2 separate regions of the Homo sapiens genome follow, and region 1 is linked to region 2. Evidence: promoter capture Hi-C in 16 types of primary human blood cells and fetal thymus (Javierre and others, 2016). All regions are on one chromosome and are shown on one strand. The core of a region is centred on a gene start or on the middle of the fragment in contact, and the rest is flanking DNA. Distances in the headings are between cores, read along the strand shown. Region 1 has its middle 2.6 kb from the start of GCSH. Region 2 holds the start of GINS3 (GINS complex subunit 3).

What was found. The method cuts DNA at HindIII sites, captures the fragments that hold promoters and counts their contacts. A CHiCAGO score of 5 or more calls a contact.
Region 1: a fragment that was not itself captured here is called in contact with the fragment with the promoter of GINS3 in region 2 in 3 of 17 cell types (non-activated CD4 T cells, naive CD4 T cells and activated CD4 T cells); the score reaches 9.8 in non-activated CD4 T cells.

What each region holds. Positions count from the first base shown.
Region 1 is chr16:81,096,651-81,101,352 of GRCh38, forward strand. It overlaps the pseudogene PKD1L2. Among named protein-coding and RNA genes, the nearest start is that of GCSH, 2.6 kb to the left of the region's middle. RefSeq lists a silencer at 1-81. The HindIII fragment of the contact is 2,961 bases long and covers 601-3,561 here.
Region 2 is chr16:58,389,369-58,394,152 of GRCh38, forward strand. It overlaps GINS3 (GINS complex subunit 3), which reads left to right and starts at 3,103. Exons shown (of 3, transcript NM_022770.4): 1 at 3,103-3,419. The coding sequence starts at 3,234. RefSeq lists enhancers at 2,742-3,319, 2,926-3,415, 3,320-3,896. The HindIII fragment of the contact is 2,062 bases long and covers 1,871-3,932 here.

The DNA of each region.
Region 1 (4,702 bases), core at 831-3,330, about 23 Mb after region 2:
GGGGCCTAGCCCCAGACTGGGTTCCTTTCCACATGTGTATCTCTTTTACTGCCTCTGTCATAAGTTTTCAAAGGTGGTTTCACCACCTCACGAAGGAATTCAAGAACAAGTCGGAAAGTCGTGAAAGTACAGAGGTTTACTGCAAAGTACACACTGAAGAAAGGGCGGACTCAAAAGAGGGCCACACAATGGGGCTTGGGGTTTCCATCTTTATGGGTTTCTTTGAGAAATGGAATATACACAAAGGTTTCTGGAATAAGGTGGAGACTTGTCAGAACTGTGGTGCCACCCATTTTTACACCAAATATGGGTGTTCCCGGAATTGTTGTGGTGCCGGTGGGTGTGTGACTTAGTATGTTAATGAGTCCTAGGTGAAGCCTAGGTCAAAGCCACACCACGTTGGGTCCAGTTGGTTTTAGCCAGGTTGACCCACACCCTGGTTTTTCAGGGTCTTAGCCCATAGCTTGTGCAGCTATTTCAACAGTTTCCTTTTGTTAGACAGAACTGCAGCCTGGAAGTTTCTATTCTCCTTCAACTGCTCTGTAACGTTCCTGTCTCAAAGAGCCCCAGGGACCCCAAACAGGACCGGCAGAATCCAGAAGCTTACTTAAAAAGGAATAAAGACTTGTCCAAGGGTCATAAGTGGCTTCTTGGTGGAGACTGGACCCAAGCCAGTCACTAATGCAGAAATATTCAAAACGCAGAGAGCTGAGACCCAGTGTGCACAATTCCTTGTTTCATCGGCCAGCGGTGTGACCAAGGCCTTCCGAGAAAAGCCGAAGTCATCATCCCAATCCAAGAAGTCAGAAAAAAATTAGGTTCTGGGAAAAACCTCACCTTTAACACAGATTTTATGGAGTGGCCATGAGTCAGCAAAGAAATACTGTTCTGAAAAACACCTTAAGCTACACACACACCTTTAGTACTGTTACAGAAAGGGCTCCCAATCCAGACCCCAAGAGAGGGTTTTTGGACCTCATGCAAGAAAGAATTTGGGGAGAGTCTATAAAGTGAAAGCACGTTTAATAGAGAAGTAAAGAAAAAAAAGAATGGCTTCTTCGTAGACAGAGCAGCAGTATGGCTTCTCGACTAAGTGTACTTATAGTTATTTCTTGATTGTATGCTAAACAAGGGGTGGATCATTCAAGAGTTCTCCAGAAAAGGGGCAGGGATTTCCTAGAACTAACGGTTCCTCCGCTTTTTGGACTATAGGGTAACTTCTCTGGACGTTGCCATTGCATTTGTGAACTGTCATGACGCTGGTGGGAGTTGTTTTTTTTTTAACATGCTAATGCATTATAATTAGCGTATAATGAGCAGTGAGACCTACCAGAGGTCGCCATCTTGGTTTTGGTGAGTTTTGGCCAGCTCCTTTACCGCATCCTATTTTATCAGCAGGGACTTTGTGACCTGTATCTTGTGCCAACCCTAGCTCATCCTGTGACTAAGTGAGGCAGGTGAATCACTTGAGGTCAGGAGTTCGAGACCAACCTGGCCAACATGGAGAAACCCCCGTCTCTACTACAAATCCAAAGTTTAGCCAGGCATGGTGGCAGGTGCCTGTAATCCCAGCTACTCAGGAGGCTGAGGCACGAGAATCACTTGAGCCTGGGAGGCAGAGGTTGCAGTGAGTCGAGATCACGCCACTGCACTCCAGCCTGGGTGACAGAGCGAGACTCTGCTTCAGAAAAAAATACAAATAAAAAGAATGCCTAACCTCCTGGGAATGCAGCCCACCAAGTCTCAGCCTCATTTTACCCAGCCCATATTCAAAATGGAGTTGTTCTTGTTCAAACACCGGAAACAGTACCATAGGGTGCACACCATGGAGTGTGTGTGTGTTTGGGGAGCCCATACGTTGTTGCACTGAGCTTCTGCCCTGCTATGAACTTAGGGTTGCCACCACATCTGTGCAGTGGCTTGCAAGGGCCGTCATGCCCACTTTCTTTTGAGCAAATCATTCCCATCTATTGAGCCTTTGCTATGTGCCTGGCACTATGCACACATCTTTTTAATCCTCTCCAAACCTCTTTCTGGCAGGTGTTACACTCATTTCATAGATGAGGCTCAGAGGTGAAGGCACTTCCGAGGAGTGGGATCGGGGAGGCGTTTTTGTGGCTTAAGTAGCTCCTAGGTGGCAGTAGTAGACCTTGGCCTCTACACTGATTAGAAAGCAACTCTTCTTTTTTTCTTTTTTTTTTTCGAGACGAAGTCTAGCTCTGTCGCCCAAGCTGGAGCGCAGTGGCGTGATCTTGGCTCACTGCAACCTCTGCCTCCCGGGTTCAAGCAATTCTCCTGCTTCAGCCTCCCGAGTGGCTGGGACTACAGGACCACGTGCCACCACGCCCGTCTAATTTTTGTATGTTTAGTAGAGATGGGGTTTCACTATGTTGGCCAAGCTGGTCTCGAACTCCTGACCTTGTAATCCACCCACCTCGGCCTTCCAAAGTGCTGGGATTACAGGCATGAACCACCGTGCCTGGCCAGCAATTGCTCTTAAGCTCTGCTCCGCTTGCTTTCGTTTGGGATGCTGACTGGATCACGCTGGTCTACCCTGCACTACAGATCTTGGCTACCTTCTCTAATGTCAAGATGTTGTTTTCTATTGTTGTTTCATTACAAGACAGTGCAGCATCGTGCCACTTACACCCTAACATATTTATTCTCAGCTTCACTAACTCATGTGATGGGAAGAAAAAGATCACACATCAACATCAACATATGGGCTACAAAAAGGCCCTTCCACCAAAAAATATGACATGTGTTTTTCTTTTGGTAAAAAGCATTGAAGACAGTCAAAATTTTTTTTCTTTTTCTACCTAGTAATCTTTGTAACCTCCTGGTTTGAGATTTTAAAGGTCATCTCGTTGCCCATTGAGTATAAGCTCTGGAAAATTCCAGGTGGTCATTTCTTCCAGGTGTTTTGAGAGGGGCCCATTCATCTCTTTGAGCTGATAGACATATTTTCCTCTTATAACAATACAGTAGACTGGGTGCGGTGGCTCATGCCTGTAATCCCAGCACTGTGGGAGGCCTAGGTAGGCAGATCACTTGAGGCCAGGAGTTCAAGACCAGCCTGGCCAACATGGTGAAACCCCGTCTCTACAAAAAAATACAAAAATTACCCAGGCATGCTCTTGTGTGCCTGTAGTCCCAGATACTGGGAAGCCTGAGACACAAGAATCATTTGATCTTGGGAGGCAGAGGTTTCAGTGAGCTGAAATCATGCCACTGCATTCCAGCCTGGGCAACAGAGCAAGACCCTGTCTCAAACAAACAAACAAACAAACAAAAAAACTTTTATAAACCAGTATTCCCCATATTTATTTGACCCAGAAACATTTTTGGAGGAATGACACCTGTTCTGGTTTGAATTGTGGCTCCTAAAGAGGTATGTCAAAGTCCTAAGTCCCAGTTCTTCAGATGTGACCATATTGGGAAACAGGATCCCTGCAGATGTATTATAATTAGTTCAGATGAGGTCACCCTGGACTAGGGTGGGCCCCTAATTCAATATGGCTGGTGTGCTGAGAAAAGGAGAAGGAACACAGGCTCCCAGCAAGCTTCTTCCCATCTGGGAGTGACACATCTAGAAGCCAAGGGACACCAAGGCTGGCTGGCCAACACCAAAAGCTGGAAGAGGCAAGAAGGATTCTTCCCTAGAGCCCTCAGAGGGAGCATGGCACTGCCAACATCTTTTTTCTTTCTTTTCTTTTTTTTTTTTGTGAGACGGAGTCATGCTCTGTCGCCCGGGCTGGAGTACAGTGGCACCACCTAGGCTCACTGCAACCTCCGCCTCCCGGGTTCAAGGGATTCTCCTGCCTCAGCCTCCTGAGTAGCTGGGACTACAGGCGCCCGCCACCACACCTGGTTAATTTTTGTATTTTTAGTAGAGACAGGGTTTCACCCTGTTGGCCAGGCTGGTCTCGAACTCCTGGCCTCAAGTGATCCGCACGCCTCGGCCTCCCAAAGTGCTGGGATTACAGGCGTGAGCCACCATGCCCGGCCACTGCCAACATCTTGATTGCACACTTCCAGGCTCCAGAGCTGGGACAGAATGCATTTCTGTCGTTTTAAGCCACTTCGTTTGTGATACATTGTTCTGGGAAACTAATACAGCATCCATTAGCATCTCTCAGACAGTTTGAGAAGCCCTGAACTAGAATCATTCAAAAGCAACCCCCAACGGACTAAAAAGACGAAATAATTAGTCTGTGCAGGAAATTTTCCAAACTCCATGTAATATTTGTTTTATTTATAATAAGAGGAAATACATTTGAACAAAGAAGCTCTCATAGTATTGGCAATTTTACATATATCTCTGTTATTGTAATTTTTTTTACTTGCTGGGCTTGGTAATTCTTCAATGGACATGAAAGCTATGACCTAGAGAGACTATAGAGTCGCTGGTAAGCGTACGCCCGAGGCCCTGGGCGTCCCCACTGGTAGATGGTGGCGTGTGGACGAACAGCTTAGTCCTTGGGCAAAGCTTGTGCTGGTCGAGAGTGGCGAGTCTGGGACAGAGACCCAGGCTGCTCCCTGCTGCTTCCAGGCTCCTCTCTCTTAGACTTAATGCCCAGGAAACTGAGTATTTTCATCAGCAGCAAATCTACGATCTCCCCTTCCTCCGACAGCTGCAAGAGAAAGAACCAGGCAATGCCCATAGAACCATCTTCTTTGGGGGCTTTTCTTTCTAAGGGGA
Region 2 (4,784 bases), core at 1,853-4,352:
GTTAGGGGAGGAGATCAAGGAAAACCCCCAAATTTTGACCTGACCAAGCAACTGGAAGGATGGCGCCCAATACATTTCTTTTTTCTTTCTTTTTCTTTCAATGAACCATGTGTACAGTTTTTCATATTTCTTCTTTTTCTCCCCACCCCCAGATTTGCATTTCTGTCACTTGCACCACAACCTCCCCACTCAATGAAAGAAATTTAGAAAGCACTGGTATTCAAAAGAACAGACGTAAAACTGCTTGAGGTTTTGCTCATCTAAAGCCTGTGTGTTCTTTGGAGGCTATGACTTTTGAGGGCAAGTCATAAAAGCTAAAGAGGCCCCTGCCCTGTTCACCAAAACACTTGTTCTAAGTTCTAAAACACTGTAGTTCTATGATTCTGAAATCTTGAAAGGATTACAATGAAAAAAATACTCTGTTTTCAAGAATCCAGCAGACACTTTTCAGAATACTAAATTTTGTATATTGTAAATATACCAAATATACTGTGAATATTATCAGTATAATGCAATTCTGTTCAGCATAATACTGGTACATTGATTGGTTGGCTGGGTGCCAAGGAACACAGCTTTCTCAGGGAACAGAAATACTCCTGGTTCTTAGGATTTAAGCTATTAACACATATCTATGCTTGAAAACCACATGCCACTTTTGTTAAATGAATTGATGCAGTTCAGCATCATAAGCTCAAACATTCACTAATTTCACCTTTTTCTGATTTATTCACTTGTTTATTAGTTCAAGGAGAGGACAGTTTAAATAGAACAATATATACACAATGATAGTTTCATGATGAGCCAAGACATTAAGTAAGACAAACAAGGCAATCTGATTTTATGTTAAACATTGGCCTGTTACTGTATTATTAAAATAATAGTGGTATTTGAGTTTGGAGCCAGTATTGTGGTCTCTGTACAAAAATAATGCCTTTCTTTGGCATCAATAAATCAGTATGCATCTATCTTAATTATATCAGCATAAAAAATAGCTTACTCTCCTTGGCAGTAAATAACATTGCCTTCAATTAGCCAAATTATATTTCTGTCTCAAACTACATCCAGTACCATATATTCCATGTCATCAGAGAAATTCTAAATTATCACTGCAGATTGTGTTTATTTTTACATTGGACTGTATCACAAACTGAACATTTAAAATATGAAAAAGGAAAAAACCTTCATATAACTGCCTCTCAGTGTGCCTCCTCTCTAAAGCTTCTAGGCTGCTTTCTCCACTGGGCTGCAGACCTTCCTGTCTAGTAGCTCTTGGACACCATGTGTCCCAAACTGAACTCATCCCTTCCCTCCAGCTGCCCCTATTCCTGTGTTCTGTGTATCTATTCATGACATGTCCATCCACCTGGTCAGCCACGTTCAAAACTTGAATCTTTTGACTACTCACTATACTTCACTTCCTATATCCAATTGGTTGCCAAATACTGCCCACTGAACAGCTTCCAAGCATCTAATCTCTCTCTTCTTTATCTACTGCTGGAATTCTCTTCCTGAAGCCCAGATTTATGTTATTATTTGCCTTACATTTTCCTCCCATTTTCTATGGAATGGCCTAACTCCTTAGAATGGTACCAAGATTTTCCACAGTTTGGCCATTCCTTTCCACCCCACTGCACCTTGTTTTCATTGTCCTCAGAATTTCATTTATAAAGGTGACTGGGTGATGACAATCAATGAGTTAGTGGCCAATGCCTTTGAAAATTTTATTATAGTTCTCAAGAGAAGGGGCTGTGCCTACGGCCACACGAGAAAGTATTAGGGTCAATGAGGAGGTAGAGAGAGCGAGGAGAAAGCCCAGAGCCTTTATTGCCGTGGGAAGGAATGGGCGAAGCAGGGAAGGGAAGTCTGAACAAGCTTAGGATTGAATAATTTGAATAATGTTGGCAAGCTCTGGGATATAGAGGTGAATTTTAGTTGTCTGGTACTTGGCCATGGGGTGGTTTATTACAGTGACTTGGGGCAGGGAAAATATTGGTGTGTGAGATGGATAAAGATGGTGTGGGGATATAGGCTTGGGTTGGTTGGTTTGTAAATGAAAGGGGTGTTCACAAGCAAGTTGTTTGCTATCTCTAGGAATTAGCTAACTCTGAAAGGGGCAATTCCTCCCCAGGTCCCCAAGGCCCCAAGATGTCAAAGCATCATAAAATACAGAAAACAGAAACTAAAATCCATGGTTAATACACACCTCCCTTCACACACACCCTTTACTCCCGGCTCCAGTAGCCCCAGAAATGCTCTAGACGAAGTAAGTTCTGTAGTGCATCTCTCAACAATATGCCGCCACCCATAGCCCTGGCTGAGGAGAGCCACCAAACCTGGTACTATGCGACCATGGTCCTTCCCCTGGTCACTGGATAGTGATCGCACCCAACACAGGCACCCCCATCTACAGGGTGGCTGGAGATCTATGACCATTGTGGCGTACCTGGACCAATCAATAAACTGGACCAATTGGATTTCCATTTTTAGGGATTTAAATTCAGAGCCACAAAAGGAGATTGTCAGTTGATGATGAGCTAAGACACCCTGAAGTATACTCACAACCTTAGCAAGCCATGTGCAGTCTAGTGCTCCACCCCTCTACCCACCCCGTCCAACCCCCACCAAAATACTAACAAAATACAACACACTAGTTCATCATCTAGACCATAATAACTCGCTGGGGATAGTGCTGGAAGTTTTTGTTTGTTTAACATTTCTTTCAAATACTAAGATTAACGGAGTTGCATAGTGAAAAAAACTGTAGGAAAGGGTCGGACTTAGGCCTGGAGTGAAGGGCACAAGATGCTTTTATTTTAAACCCCTAAAAGTGTTGCAAAGTGTTTTTAATTTCATATAAATAGTTAAGGATCACATGAACACAATCCAGTACAAATGGGTCCAGGAGCTTCAACGAGCGTTCCAGCTTCTTCGTAACGTTCCCACACCGTGCAGCAAGCGGAGGGAAGAGAACTTCCGGCGCCCCCACCTACCGCTCCCCAGCCGTGTCCCGCTGCTCTAAATCTGCAGACTTGATCGATTGCTTCTGCCTGGGCGGTACCGCCCGAATTGACTGCTCCTGTCTGATGCGTCCCCGGGCGCGGGAAACGAGTTTCAATCCACTTTCCTGACCCCAACCATCCTGCCCAGTCTCCGCTTCCCCGTCTTGTACACCCCTAACTCCTGAGGCTCCTCCGAATCACGCGAGTGGAAGCGGAGAAGCTCAAGTGGCCGCCATGTCAGAGGCTTATTTCCGAGTGGAGTCGGGTGCGCTGGGGCCTGAGGAGAACTTTCTTTCTTTGGACGACATCCTGATGTCCCACGAGAAGCTGCCGGTGCGCACGGAGACCGCCATGCCTCGCCTTGGCGCTTTCTTCCTGGAGCGGAGCGCAGGCGCCGAGACTGACAACGCGGTCCCACAGGTGAGCCTTTGGGTGCGGGGTCCTGCCCGGAAAGACTGCAGCTCCCGGCGGGCCCCTCGGCCCTGGGACGCCGCATCGGGGCGCGCTGCCCTTTGGGATTTGTAGTTTTCGAGGAGCCAGGGCCGAAGGCGCTAACGACTTCTCGGAAACTCCGCGGGGGTCCCTTCGCGCTCGGGGTGGTCTCCAGACTTCTTGTTCGCCATCTGTGGTGAAACTACATTTATCCTAGGTCGCCAGGCAGCCTCCAACATTGATTTCTTTTTTGAAACTGTCCAAATTAGTGTCTTCCCCCTACCCCATGCAACGTGTGTTGAATGCTTAAAGATTGGCTCCAGCTGAATACTTAAGAATTAGAGTTCTGATCATGTTTGCCTTAAAACAGCTTTGGGTTCTGTAAGAGCATGTGATAAGTAGGAACCCCAAGTTGCTAAATTCATTCCTCCATAATGATGACAGGATCAGTAAGCCCTACTGAGGCTTACTTAGTGGCAGCATGGTTGGGTGTGGGGAGTAAGCTTTTCCCTTTAATCCTTCAGCAACCAGAAAGGCTGGGTCACTTGGCCAGGGCTTCAGTTAGTGGTGAGCTGGGATTCGGAACCCAAGGCCATATGGCTTCAAATATAAAATTGTCCCAGGAACATGGCTTGTAATGATTAATTTGGATATCCTGTTTCACCTAAGTTTTGTATAGAACGATGTTTATTGTTTGGTCTGTTTGTTTCAAGTTAATTTTTATCAAAGTAATACATAACCAACGTTTTAAAAGTCAAATAGGCCGGATGCGGTGGCTCACGCCTGTAATCCCAGCACTTTGGGAGGCTGAGGCGGGCGGATCACGAGGTCAAGAGATCCAGACCATCCTGGCCAACATGGTGAAACCCCATCTCTACTAGAAAGCTGGGTGTGGTGGCCGGCGCCTGTAATCTCAGCTACTCTGGAGGCTGAGGCAGGAGAATTTCTTGAACCCAGGAGGCAGAGGTTGCAGTGAGCCGAGACTGTGCCACTGCACTCCAGCCTGGCGACAGAGTGAGACTCCATCTCAAAAAAAAAAAAAAAAAAAGTCAAATAGTACCAAAAGATTTATAAGAAAAAAAATAGCAGGTCCTGCCTTCCTTTTCCCACTTCCCCCTCCAAGTCCACAGGGCTCATGTACCTTTTTTAGTGGTGTCTTCAAGATTCATCTTCATATTTCTAAATAATATTCTTAAACTTACCTTGTTGGGTTGTTTTTTTTAATGTAGACATTATCTGTTGACTTCATCCTAGCAGATGAGGATTTCGTTCCCATACACACTGGTAAACATGGCGCTATGCTGCCCATACTTAATTCATATTTCCTTAGTTTTTAGTTAATGCCCTTTTTCT